Linked DNA regions of Homo sapiens: region 1 is linked to region 2. Evidence: promoter capture Hi-C in human tissues and cell types (Jung and others, 2019). All regions are on one chromosome and are shown on one strand. Each heading gives the region's core, a stretch centred on a gene start or on the middle of the fragment in contact. The rest is flanking DNA. Distances are from core to core; before and after follow the strand shown.

Region 1 (6,715 bases), core at 2,314-4,813, 51 kb before region 2:
CAGGAGAATCACTTGAACCCGGGAAGCAGAGGTTGCAGTGAGCCGTGATCGTGCCACTGTGCTCCAGCCTGAGTGACAGAGCAAGACTCCATCTCAAAAAAAAAAAAAAAAGCCTCATTTGCCCAAATGTCCATCAACTAACAAAAGGATATACAAAATATCGTATACCCATACAAGAGAGTATTATTCAGCCATAAATAGGAATTAAGTGCTGACACATGCTGCAATACAGATGAAACCTCAAAAACATAATGCTAAGTGAAAGAAGCCAGACACAAAAGGCCACATATTGTATAATTTCATTTATACGAAATACCGAGAATAGATCAACCCACAGAAACAGACAGCAAATTAGTGGCTGCCAGGCCTGGGAGGAGGCAGGTATGAGAAGATTCTGCTTAACAGGCAGAGTTAGTTCCCTTTTCAGATGATGAAAATGTTTTGGACACAGACAAAAGTGGCAGTTGCACAAGATTATGAATGCACTAAATGGTACTGAATTGTAAACTTTAAAATGGTCAATATTATATTATGTGAATTTTACCTCAATTAAAACCCTATCTGGTATCCAATTACATTAAGTCAACCTGGACTGCCTTCTCTTCCTACAACTGGGAGATTTCCTAAAACTACAGGGGTTTTGGTAATAACCTGCTTTTTTGGTGGGGTCTGCCATGGCACTTTAACACTAACTAGTAACTTAGCTCCAAATAATTTCTCATCCTGTGTAGCTCTGACAATCTGTCCTTATTAAATGGTAATACTCTACCAGTAAACAACGCAAGAGTTTTGACTAGTTTATGAAATTCATAAACTATTGGTATTACACATCATCATGTGGCAGTTATAGGAGTAGGAAGGTATGGGAAACATGGAAACATTAAGTCCTAGTATATTTTACCAAAGCAGGGTTCTCTGTGAATAGCTGAAGAAAACGGAAGAGCTTTAGGAAATTTTAACCTGGCTTATAAACTGGAGCCATATATCCTTTCCTCCCTTCCCCAGTCTCCTTTCCCCTTAATATGAGAAGAGCACTGAGCTATCAAAGAGTGTCTGTTGCAAGTAACAGAATTTAGATCAGGTTTGAAGCTATGTGTTTTACTGCAGATACCACAAAAGACCAGCATCCAGACAGCTCATCCACTATTGTCCCTGTAAGAGAGGCTTGTGTCCAAACTGTGGTTCCTTTAAAAAAAAAAAAAAAAAAAAAAAAAAAAAAAATCTCAAGAAGGCCTGGCTGGCTAGGGCAGAATGAAAGAAGGCATCTTTGAAAATGTGCGTCTGGACTAGAACTAGTGATTTTGGAAATTCAATGGGCTGCTTTGAGAGGTATTGAGTTCTGTATCAACAGTGTTCAAAGGAAGTGTAACCAATTATTTGTTTAAAATATTATAAAGAATCCAATGAATGGATATGGGGCATATGACAATTCTGTGGGATATTTGCTTCAAATAAACAATTAAAAACCAGTTATGAGAAGCCTAGGCAACATAGTGAGGACCCCATCTCTACAAAAAATAGAAAAATAAAGTAGCTGGGCATACTGGCTCACACTTATAGTCTCAGCTACTCAGAAGGCTGAGGCAGGAGGATAAATTGAGCCTGGGAGGTCGACACTGCAGTGAGCTATGATTGCGCCAGGATACTCCAGCGAGGGTGACAGGGCAAGACCCTGTCTCAAAAAAATAAAAAACAATAAAAACCAGTTATGAGCCAGGGTGTGTTTTTACAAAACTTAGAGGAGAAGAGAAATCTATGAGGTTCCTACTAGCCCCCTTTTTGTGTAACAAAACATGTTGCTTTCTGATTGGTTCCCAAAAGGATAGATTAATATCAACATCATTTCTTATCTTCAAAGGAAAAAAAAAAAAAGAACAATTTGCTTATCAAAAGATATATGAGGATTCCTGTCATAAAACTAAATTATTGCCAAGGGGAAAACAGTGAGAAAAAAAAATTATTGTCTTTATTACCTGTGTTTTGAATTCCCACAATAAACAGATTAAACCCCACCAAGTCCTGCCCCAACTCCAACTCCCATCCAACTGTGGCCATATGCTCAGAGGGTTCTGAAAGAATAGTTATGTCTAAGTTACTAGAATCCAGCAAATGTTTTATTTCCTTCCATTTTTTCTTTTATATATTTTTTAAATGTTTCAACCATAAACACATGTAATCTGTTTATATTTAACTTCAAAGAGGCACTTGACCTTCATTAAGAATACTTTTTTTTTTTTTTTTTGGAGACAGTCTCGCTCTGTCCCCCAGGCTGGAATGCAGTGCCATGATCTCGGCTCACTGCAACCTCCTCCTCGTGGGTTCAAGCAAATTCTTCTGCCTCAGCCTCCCGAGTAGCTGGGATTACAGCTGTGCGCCATCATGCCTGGCTAATTTTTGTTTTGTTTTTTGAGACAGAGTTTCACTCTTGTCACCCAGGATGGAGTACAATGGCGCAATCTCGGCTCACTGCAACCTTCGCTTCCCCGGTTCAAGAGATTCTCCTGCCTCAGCCCCTCAAGTAACTGGGATTATTGGTGCCTGCCACCACATCCAGCTAATTTTTGTATTTTTAGTAGTGACAGGGTTTCACCACATTGGCCAGGCTGGTCTTGAACTCCTGACCTCAGGTGATCTGCCCACCTCGGCCTCCCAAAGTGCTGGGATTACAGGCGTGAACCACCACGTCCAGCGTAATTTTGGGTTTTTTGTTTGTTTTCGAGATGGAGTCTTGCTCTGTCTCCCAGGCTAGAGGGCAGTGGCATGATCTCGGCTCACTGCAACCTCCACCTCCCAAGTTCAAGCGATTCTCCTACCTCAGCCTCCCAGGTAGCTGGGATTATAGGCGTGCGCCACCACACCCATCTAATTTTTGTATTTTTAGTAGAGACGGGGTTTCGCCATGTTGGCCAGGCTGGTCTCGAACTCCCGACTTCAGGTGATCCACTCACCTTGGCTTCCCAAAGTGCTGGGATTACAAGCATGAGTCACCATGCCCGGCCAAGAATACTTTAAATATGCTATATATAAGAAAATTAAACATTTCCAGGAAATACTGAATATGGTAGAAAATAAAGTGAACCTTTTGCTGTATTACATTAAAAACTTACATCAGTTACATGGAAAGCAACATTTATTCATTCAAGAAATGTTTAATGATTATCTATCAAGTATGTTTTAATTCTTAACCTTGATATGCTCAGGTATTCTCTTCTACTCTTTTTTTTTTTCTTTAAGAGACAAGAGATCACTGCCATCCAGGCTAGAATGCAGTGGCGTGATCACAGCTCACTGTAACCTTGAACTCCCAGGCTCAAGCAGTCCTCCCACTTAGCTTCCCATAGCGCTGAGATTACAAGCATGAGCCACTGCACCTGGCCTTCTCTTCTACTCTTATCCCAACTCAATTTTATGTATACTAATGGATTCTGTCCCAACTTCTTTTTATATAGCTTCATAGAGATTCTGGGGGTCCACAGTAAACACTTGGTAGTTGCTTGGAATTAAAGAAAACATAATTACCAAAAAAGAAAAAAAGATTTTTTAACAACAAACTAGCTACCAAGTGGTCATTCTACATAATAATCATCATTAAACCTCAGTGTAATAAAGAAATTGTTTCCCTACAAAAACATCTAAGTTCAACAACACAAAAATGAAGTGAAGCCCAGGCGCGACGGCTCACACCTGTAATCCCAGCACTTTGGGATGCCAAGGTGGGCGGAAAACTTGCGGTCAGAGTTCGAAACCAGCCTGGCCAACATGGTGAAACAACGTCTCTACCAAAAAAATACAAAAAAAATTAGCTGGGCATGGTGGCATGAGCCTGTAGTTCCAGCTACTTGAGAGGCTAAGGCAGGAGAATTGCTTGAATCCGGGAGGTAGAGGTTCCAGTGAGCCAAGATCGTGCCACTGCACTCCAGTCTGGGTGAAAGAGTGAGACCTTGTCTCAAAAAAGGAAGTGAAAGGTAATTAAAAAAGAACTTACGAAGGAAGGTCTTTGGCAGCTCTCAAGCCCCAGCCTTTCTTTTCTGTGAGTATGACTTCCACATCTGCATGCTGTTTTCTCTGAAACCGTCTATTGGAACAATAATCCCCATTTGGACACCGAGAAGAACTGAAATGAGAAAAGGAGGAAATTTAATTCTTTAAAGCAGCAAAAGAACCAAAGTAACTTTGAAAAAATGTGTTAGTATAACTACATATATACATACTTTTATGGTATAATTAGCATATGTATGACTAACCCCCAACTAAGTCTTCCTTTCCTTCCATCACAAAGGGATTCCTTAGAACTGAGTATCTACATTGTTACTTAAACAGATCATACCCACAATACAGCCTTGATATCTGGTCATCACAGAAATATCTACCACTCCCTAGGTGTCTAGAATACATTTTCAGGCTGCATGTAAGCTTTCAGTACATTGACAACTCTGCAGAACTTATATTCTGTAAGTGCACCTTCCCTTCCTTCTACTCTAATCACTTTTAATTTCATTTTTTGAATGCAGCTAACTACTTGATCTACAATTGAGAAAATCTAAAGTCATTATTAAATATATCCTTGTTCAGAGTAAACAGAATAACATGGCATGGCTCTTCTCCCATGGATCCTAGAGTAAAAATGATAAAATCGAACACTGATTGACTTCTTAATATGTGATAGATATAAAGGTTTTAACGATGATTAAAACTACACCAGAGGGGGCTGAGTACGGTGATTCATGCCTGTAATCCCAGCACTTTGGGAGGCCAAGGCAGGTGGATCACTTGAGGTCAGGAATTCAAGACCACCCTCGCCAACATAGTGAAATCCTGTCTCTCTGAAAAATACAAAAATTAGCCGGGCATGATGGTGCACGCCTGTAATCCCAGCTACTTGGGAGGCTGAGGCAGGAGAATTGTTTGAACCCAGGAGGCAGAGGTTGTAGTGAGTCAAGATTGTGCCACTGCACTCTAGCCTGGGCGACAGAGGGAGACTGTCTCAAAAAAAAAAAAAAAAAAAAAAGACCACTGGAAATTACCAATCATTTTGAATATATTATTATTTATTGCCCACCCAGCAGCAAATAACATTTTTAGCAATGGTCAAAGGATGAAGGATTTGCTCTAGAGTGAGGCAGTATAAAGGAAAGCTTTCAGGAGGGAAGAGAATTTAAGGCAGAATCTCTAATGATACATAGGATATGCATAAAGAAAGCTGGAGATACAACTGTCCCTGTCTGTGTGCAGAAATAGGAAAACAATCCCTGTTTGGACAAAGAGAAATGAAACAACTAAAGATAACTGATAAGAAAGGTGAGTTGCTGGAGGATGAAAAGACAGGCTGATGATATGCTACCAAGGGCTCTGAATACAAGGCTAAGTTTGAACCTAATCATGAGAACAACCGAGAACTACCAAAAGCTTAAGTGTGTGAATAATATGAAGAAATATTTTTCTTCATGTATGCTTCACAAGGTTGGCAGGAAAACCCAGAAGAATGACTAGGGCAACAATATGAAGTTAGAATAATGCTAACTCTATGTCTTCTCTTCTTACATCTGTACTGTCATCTCTCTCTCTAGTTTGGATAAAAGAATACCAAAAATCCTTTCTCTTTATTTTTTCAAGGTATATATATTTTATTTTTGCAACACTATAACATGAGCAAAACCAAAAACTGAGCTTTGGGGAAAAAAAACCTTCACTAACATCAAAAATAAGGTATACTCTTTCCATGTAAAAGACAAGAATATATTTTTCATCAATCAGATTGGTTAAAAAAATTTTTTTGAGACAACATCTCGCTCTGTCACCCAGGCTGGAGTATAGTGGAATGACAGCTCACTGCAAGCTCCACCTCCTGGGTTCAAGTGCTTCTCCTGCCTCAGCCTCCAGAGTAGCTGGGATTACAGGTGTGTGTCATCATGCCTGGCTAATTTTTGTATTTTTTAGTAGAGATGGGGTTTCACCATGTTGGCCAGGCTGATCCTAAACTCCTGGCCTCAAGTGATCTGCCCGCCTCAGCCTCCCAAATAGCTGGGATTACAGGCATGAGCCACTACGCCTGGCCAAAATTAAATTTTTTAATGTAAAGATATTTACTATTTATAAGAACAATACAGAAGCAAATGTCTGTCAACAGACTAATTACCGGCTAACTATGAATAGAATACATAATGCAGTCAAGAGAAAGATTTAGGCAGGTCTGTACACAGAGCTCTGATTAGGTCTGATTAGCAAATCCAAGCAAGTATATAGAATAAGATTTTATCTGTATACATAAAAAGAGGAAAACATCTACCTATGCTAGCATAGGCATTAAAAGTTTTCTGGAAAAATGACAAAACAATGGGACTGATGTTTGGGAGAAGACATTCACTTTATGCATTTCTGAAATGTTAGGGTTTTATTTCACTTTATAGTGAAAGCTAAAAAATACCAACATTTACCTCTAGGACATAAATATTATAAAAGATAAAAAAGTACTGAATAGAAATTAATATTATAGGACTACTTTACCAAGCACTTAAAACATGGTGGGTACTGTAATCTAATGCACAATGCAAGGGATATTTGTTTCCCTATTAATATGTTTTCTACTATACATCAAAGTGTCTACTATACTTTTTTGCTTGTAGTCATCCATAGGTAGGAGAAAGGTTAAATTTTATTCTTCATTGATAATTCAATATTTAGAGACATTTAATAGAAGTGTTGAGCAAAAGCCGAG
Region 2 (7,290 bases), core at 1,245-3,744:
ATTCTTTACTCCATACAGGTTAATACACAAGAAGAGGCCTGGCACAATGGCTCATGCCTGCAATCCCAGCACTTTGGGAGGCCAAGGCAGGAGGCTCACTTGAGGCCAGGGATTCAAAACCAGTAACGTAATTTATTTTTTTTTAATTAGCTGGGTGTGGTGACACATGCCTATAGTCCCAACCCAGGAGGCTGAGGCAGGAGGACTGCTTAAGCCCAGAGGTTCAAGGATGCAATGAGCCATGATGACACCACTGCACTCCAGCCTGGGTGACAGAGTGGGACCCTGCCTCTAAAAAAAAAAAAAAGGAAAAAATACACGAGAATTTAAAAATATATAATCACTGTTAGAAATCCAAAGCAGTGGATTTCTACTACATTAAAGCAATAAAAATAAAAACTCCAAAACATGTAAAACCATAAAACATTCTTGATTCCTTCCCCACTCAGGTCTACCAAAGATGCACTTCTGAGTCCATTTTCCCACATATTATGAAAAATTGTTTTTCCCCAAGAAGTGTAAGGATGTGATCCTTAAAGCTTCCGGACTTCACCAAACAACCTGGTAAAAGGAAGTGAAAGCAGGCACTTAGCCTATTCAGGGGTTAGCATGTTACTTTGTACAGAGCAAGTGCTATATAAGCATTTATTGAATCGTGATATAAAATTTTTTTTGAGGTTTTTCAAACTAAAAACCTATAACATGAGCTTTGTAATTGGACTGATGGTGCAGTAAATCAAAACAATCTTACCTAACTGACCCTGCCAGTAGCAAAACAAAAAGACCAATCTAATTAAGGTAATGTTAACCAATGGCCAAGAACCCATGAAAGGAAAAAGCCATGTTAACTTACTATTGCAAGTAAGAGTTGGGTTTTTAGAAAAGCAAAATAATGATTTATCTTGTTGTGCAGAAATGACCAACACCTCAACAGAATCCGTTTGTGTTGCAATCAAAACTATCAATTAAGATCCAGACATTTCTGGACCAATGTGAGAAGATGTGGCAAGGGATTCAAAAACGAGCCAGAGCAAACCTAAGGTAAAATGTGTCAAAACAGCAAAGCTCTTGGAATCATCCTGGTCATAAAAGTTTGACAGTTTCATGTGAAACCCCTATCAACCGATAAGTTTTAAATCAATAGTATATTCCTAGGTCTAACACCAGCAAACGGTGTTTAAGAACGGCTTTTCAAAACAATGGTCTCGTGAGGGTTCAGGGAAAGAAGTGACTCCAGGCTTTCTGAGATAGCAGATACAGCAGCAGATTCAGACCTCAAGAGAAATGTAAAGGTGTCCTAGACTGAAAAATTACTATTGGGCAAAACTGTGTGTCGGTTTTCCACAACATTGTCTTCTTTAGAGAATCCTCAAACGATTCTTGGTTTTTAACCAAGTCTTCACAAGAAATAGAAAGTCATCCGTTTAGGGTAAGAGATTCCTGTTACCAAGAAAATTGTGTCCGAAAGTGTGAAAATCTCACAACCTGCAAGAAAATGTATGTCCCTCAGGAGGCTTTCATTTTCAAGCGGAAAAACAAACCCGGTGTCACCTCAACAACGGGACCACACAAACCTCGCCATTACAAAACCCAAGTGCCAAAGGTGCACAATGTGAATCCGGAAGCACTGCAAGGCCAGGATCGAGTTCCCAGGAGGAAAAAATCAAACTCAGGAGTGCAGCGCGGGCCCCTCCACGGCCCGGGGGCCAGGCAACCCGCGCTAGGCCCTTCCGGTCCGAGGCGCCGCCGTCGCGGGGAGGTCGGGCGACGGGTCGAGCTTCCACCCGAGCCCGGGGATTCGCGGCCTACCCTCACCGGCGCCCTCTTGCCGGGCCCGGCACCGGCAGCTCCTCCGACTCTGCCCTTTGGCTAGCAGCGGGGCCCGGACGAGCCACGAGGAGCCCGAGAGGACCGCCGAGCCCCGGGATGGCCGGGTCGGTGCGGACACGGCGGTAACCGTAGGGACCGTGGCCGCCCCTCCCCCACCGGCCCGGCCCAACCGCCGCCGCGACACGAGCAGCGGCGCCAACGCCGGGCCCAACCGCGGGCCTGCTGCGGCCCCGGCCAAGCGGCTCGAAGTGGCGGCGCGGGCCTGCTCCCGACACCGACCGCGCGAGGCCACCGTGGGCCTGTTACTCCTCGCGCCGGCCCGCGCCGCCACCCGTCAGGACGCGCCGCCCTCGGCTGGGGATAAGGCGGCCGACAGCAGCGGGGGGCCGCGGAGCTGATACTTACTCAGGGGTCGGGTGCTCCGGGTCGTAGAAATCCCCCATCTTCGGAGGCGGCTGCGGCTGCAGCTGCTTCATCGGGAGCGGCTGGAGACGGCGACGCGAGCCCCCTCCCCGCAGCAGGGCGACGCGGGGGAGGGGAGGGGAGGAGGCCGCAGGTCCGACCGCGGCGGCGGCGGCGGCGGCGGCGGCGGCGGCAGGGGCGGCCCGCGTCGCTACCTCGCTCGTCGCTCCCTCCCTCCCTCGGACGCCCGCCAGCCGCTCTCTCCCTCTCACCCTCACACCGGGAGCGACGCACACCCCACCCGCCCCTCAGCTTCGCAGGCCCGGCCCCTTAAAGAGACACACACGGGCCACCGATCTGCCGCCAGTCGGCGTGCCTTGCAGCTGTTGGCTTGACCCCAGGCCGGGACGGGCAGAGCGGAACACTGCCCGGCGGGTCCAGGCCGACCGTGCCTGTGGCTCTCCGGAACAATAAACCCCCGGCCCCAGTGATGTGGGCCAGACCGGACCTGGAGAGGCGGCACCGCGACCCCTCCCGCAACCCGCCTGGCGGCCGGGGGCAGCGTGACCCGGCCCGCTACCGTGTCACAGCTGGCGACTGACAAACAGCAGGCGACGTCGGGAGAACTCCCCGAGACACCCGAGACATCAGCCTTCTCGCTCCGCGGCCCTGCAGGACCTGCCCGCCGGGAGCCCCGGAGTCCGCGGCAGCGCCGAGGGCCCCTCCCCCAGGCCTCTGGGCTCTGAGGTAACGCGGCCGCGGCTGCTCCCGGGCCCCTCGTCCCACTCGCCCCTCTCTTTTTTATTTTTCCTCGCCCTCTCTCTCCCTTGCCCGTTCATCTCGACCCTTTAGCAAGCATGGAAGCCCAGCGAGGCGGGGGATTGCTCGGAGGCCGAGCTCCCGGCAGCCTCCTCCGCCTTCCTTCCCGCTGTGCCCTCGGGGCTCCTACCTCCACCTCGGCGCGGCGCTCTGCCCCCACCCGAAGTCTCCAAGGCGGCAGCTCCCCTCTCCTGTGTGGTTCTTGGGGCCTTAGAGGCAATGTCATGAAAAAAAGGGTATTAATCACTTTCCTACAGAAATGATAAGATGAGACTAAGTAGAATAACTTGAAAGAGCTACGAGTTGTTATTTTTGGAAGGAGAGATAGGAACGCGTAAATCCAATAGCTAAACTTTCTAGACGCTGAAGAGTTTTTGGCGATAGATCATTTTGACATTGGGGGTTCATAGGGTTAGCGTTTTTTGTGTTGTTGTTGCTGTTGTTTTTCCACTAGAATTTTGAATCGGATTTTACCAGCAATTGGTAACGGAAAGGAAAGGATGTGTCTTCCAATTGAGAAACAGTGGTTAAAAACTGAAAGTGGGCCGGGCGCGGTGGTTCACGCCTGTAATCCCAGCACTTTAGGAGGCCGAGGCGGGCGGAGTAACTGAGGTCAAGAGTTCCAGACCACACTGGCCAACATGGCGAAACCCCATCTCTACTAAAAATACAAAATTTAGCCGGGCGTGGTGGCGCACGGCTGTAATTCCAGGTACGCGGGAGGCTGAAGCAGGAGAATCGCTTGAACCCAGGAGGCGGAGGTTGCAGTAAGCCCAGATTGTGCCACTGCACTCCAGCCTGGCGACAGAGCAAGACTCCATCTCAAAAAAATAAATAAATGAATGAAAATAAAAAATAAATTAGCTGGGCGTGGTGGTGCGCCTGTAATCCCAGCTACTCGGGAGGCTGAGGCAGGAGAATCGCTTGAACCCAGGAGGCGGAGGTTGTAGTGAGCCCAGATCGCACCATTGCACTCCAGCCTGGGCGATATAGCGAGACTCCGTCTCAAAAAAATAAAACAACAACAACAAAAAAAAACTGAAATATGATACGAAAGAATAAACATCCTTCAGTGGTTAACTTTTTAAAATAGCCTTTATATGTATGTAGGCTACAGTGTCTATTAGTGTTTTATAATCATTGTTTTTCACTTAGGGATTATTTTGGCTTTTGTTTTTTTTTTTCCTGGTACCTTTAGGGTTAGCATGGAGGTCCAGGGTCCATCTGACTCCCTAGGTTCGAATCTCCCAAGGCCATTTTTTTACACACCGTGATTATTACTAATTTCCCTGTGGTTTTTCTCATTATAAAATGAGAATATTGCTGCCGACAGGTCTTCTCATTATTGTGAGGATTAAATGAGCTATTTGTTAAAGGCTTAAACTTTCAGTAAACGTCAGCATTCTTCAGCCATGATAGTGCAGAGTTTAAGAGGTAGCTCTACCTGGCATTGTGTACCAGGCACTTTCTAGCCCTGTGACATTGGGATGCTTGCTTCTTATGCTTCCCGTGCCTCACCTGTAAATGGGGTATTAGCCACTGTGCAGAGAATGTTGTGAACATGCTTGCACAGTGCCTTTCATTGAGTAAGTGCCCAGTAAGTGTTATCTTTTGGGCTTTGAAAGAATAGATTGAGGCCCTGTGCCTTAGATGCCACATAGGCAATTGGGAGTCACTTGACCTTGGACAGGCAGGAAAGGACAATTTTAGGTGGAGGTGGTTGAAACAATGTGAGGTGGTAAGGACCTAAGCTGAGGTGAATGAGAAAAAAGCAGTCAGGTGCAGGTTTCCTATTTCCTTAATAAGAAAGTAAGCAATTCTCTTGCAGGAGGTACAGCTGGGCACTGGAATGCCTGGTCTCATGATAGCATTGGTTTGGTCAGAACCCAGTGCAATAAGCTTGTCAAGCCATGGGAATCAGTGAGAATTCTAAGCCCCAAACAGAAACAAATGAACTGGGTTTTTACAGGCAGTGCCTTCATCTATAACTGCACTCAGAGTTCTTTGGACTCATATTTTTAAGTCAAAGAGAATGCATGCTTGGAGCACGTACTTGGGCCTGGCCTCCTGATCAAAGCTGTGGAATAATTTGGTTTTTCATGTTATTAAATACTGACCATCCCCTACTTTCTGCACATGTTTAAAGGAAAAATGTCTAAAAAGCCCTAGCATGAAATATTTGAGGCATTCACTCCCAGAGTGCTAAAATCGTAAAAGCCTTTATAATTTCAGCTGGGTGTGATGGGATCATGCCTGTAATCCCATCACTTTGGGAGGCTGAGGCAGGTGGGTCACCTGAGGCTGGGAGTTCAAGACCAGCCTAACCAACATGGAGAAACCCGGTCTCTACTAAAAATACAAAAATTAGCCCGGCGTGGTGGCACATGTCTAATACCAGCTACTAGGGAGGCTGAGGCAGGAGAATCACTTGAACCTGGGAGGCGGAGGTTGCAGTGAGCCGAGATCATGCCATTCCACACCAGCCTGGGCAACAAGAGCGAAACTCATCTCAAAAAAATATATATATATTTATACTTTCTCCTACTGTTACTGTCTCCTGTGGGTCAAGACCAACCCTATCCCAGGAGATTCCAGGGTTGCCAGTAGTGACCCTGAAACAAAATCATCTCTTGCCTTAGGGAAGACAAAGGCCAAAAGCCTACTCTCCACAGGTAGGCTTCGGGTACCTGGTAAGGGTAGTAGAAAGAAGAAATGTAGACCGGGTGCGGTGGCTGACGCCTGTAATCCCAGTACTTTGAGAGGCCAAGGCAGGCGAATCACCTGAAGTCAGGAGTTCGAGACCAGTCTGACCAACATGGAGAAACCTGGTCTCTACTAAAAATACAAAATTAGCCGGATGTGGTGGCACATGCCTGTAATCCCAGCTACTCTGGAGGATGAGGCAGAAGAATCGCTTGAACTCTGGGAGGCGGAGGTTGCGATGATGAGCTAAGATCGCGCCACTGCACCCCAGCCTAGGCAACAACAGCAAAACTCCATCTCAAAAAAAAAAAGAAATGTAGGTCGGGCACAGTGGCTCATGCCTATAATCCCAGCACTTTGGGAGGCCGAGGAAGGCAGATCACTTGAGGTCAGGAGTTCAAGACCAGCCTGGCCAATACGGTGAAACCCCATCTCTACTAAAAATACAAAAATTAGCTAGGCATGGTGGCGCACGCCTATAATCCCAGCTACTCGGGAGGCTGAGGCAGGAGAATTGCTTGAGCCCGGGGTGGGGGGTGGAAGTTGCAGTGAACAGAGATCGCATCACTGCACTCCAGCCTGGGCAACAAGAGTGAGACTCAGTCTCAAACAAAAAAAATGAATAAAATAAATAAATATGTATTTTCTCCTCTGTAGCACAGAAACATTTACTATCAACATCTTAGCATTTTGGGGAGCGGGAAATGAGATAATGTCTGACAAAGTACCTAATGCCTGTAAACTAATAGCCATACAACAAAAAATTGGCTACCTTATAAATTTAGGTAGATATATGAGGCTCAATACAATTGAAGATTTAGATTTAGTCAGTATACAGAATAAAGGCAGCATAATTTAGAATAAATTACTCATTCACATAAGTTTTGTTATATTGTTATAACTGTTTTATTAACTACTGTTAATCTCTTAGTGTGCCTAATTTATAAATTAAACATCATAAGTATGTATGTATAGGAAAAAACAAAGTATATTTAGGGTTCCAGGCATCCACCAGGGGTCTTGGGACCTATCCCTTGTAGATAAGGTGGGGACTACTGTAATTACAACTTTTTTTTTTTTTTTTTTTTTTTTTTTTTGAGATGGAGTCTCGCTCTGTCGCCCAGGCTGGAGTGCAGTGGTGCGATCTCAGCTCACTGCAAGCTCCGCCTCCCGGGTTCATGCCATTCTCCTGCCTCAGCCTCCCAAGTAGCTGGGACCACAGGCACCCGCCACCATGCCCGGCTAATTTTTTGGATATTTAGTAGAGATGGGGTTTCACCGTGTTAGCCAGGATGGTCTCGATCTCCTGACCTTGTGACCCACCCACCTTGGCGTCCCAAAGTACTGGGATTACAGGCATGAGCTACCGCACCCAGCCTAATTACAACTTATTTTTATTCCTATTCATTCTGCACATCCCAACACAAGGCAAGAAGAATCTAGAAAACAATGCACAACCTACATTGAGCTCCACCTCCTATAATTCCTATTAGATGTTATTTGTATCAAGTCAGCACCCTCCTACATAGTATTATT

The links. The method cuts DNA at HindIII sites, captures the fragments that hold promoters and counts their contacts. A contact is called where the count stands out against the background at its distance.
Region 1: a fragment that was not itself captured here is called in contact with the fragment with the promoter of SETD2 in region 2 in 2 of the 25 tissues and cell types used here (aorta and psoas muscle).

The regions. Positions count from the first base shown.
Region 1 is chr3:47,109,891-47,116,605 of GRCh38, forward strand. It overlaps SETD2 (SET domain containing 2, histone lysine methyltransferase), which reads right to left. Exons shown (of 21, transcript NM_014159.7): 5 at 3,986-4,114. Among named protein-coding and RNA genes, the nearest start is that of SETD2, 51 kb to the right of the region's middle. RefSeq lists enhancers at 3,820-4,327, 4,328-4,836. The HindIII fragment of the contact is 3,414 bases long and covers 1,857-5,270 here.
Region 2 is chr3:47,161,619-47,168,908 of GRCh38, forward strand. SETD2 (SET domain containing 2, histone lysine methyltransferase) reads right to left here and starts at 2,495. Exons shown (of 21, transcript NM_014159.7): 1 at 2,236-2,495. The coding sequence starts at 2,306. KIF9-AS1 (KIF9 antisense RNA 1) reads left to right here and starts at 2,752. Exons shown (of 7, transcript NR_033373.1): 1 at 2,752-2,979. RefSeq lists silencers at 1,788-2,097, 2,148-2,897, 2,948-2,997. The HindIII fragment of the contact is 7,701 bases long and covers 1-6,221 here.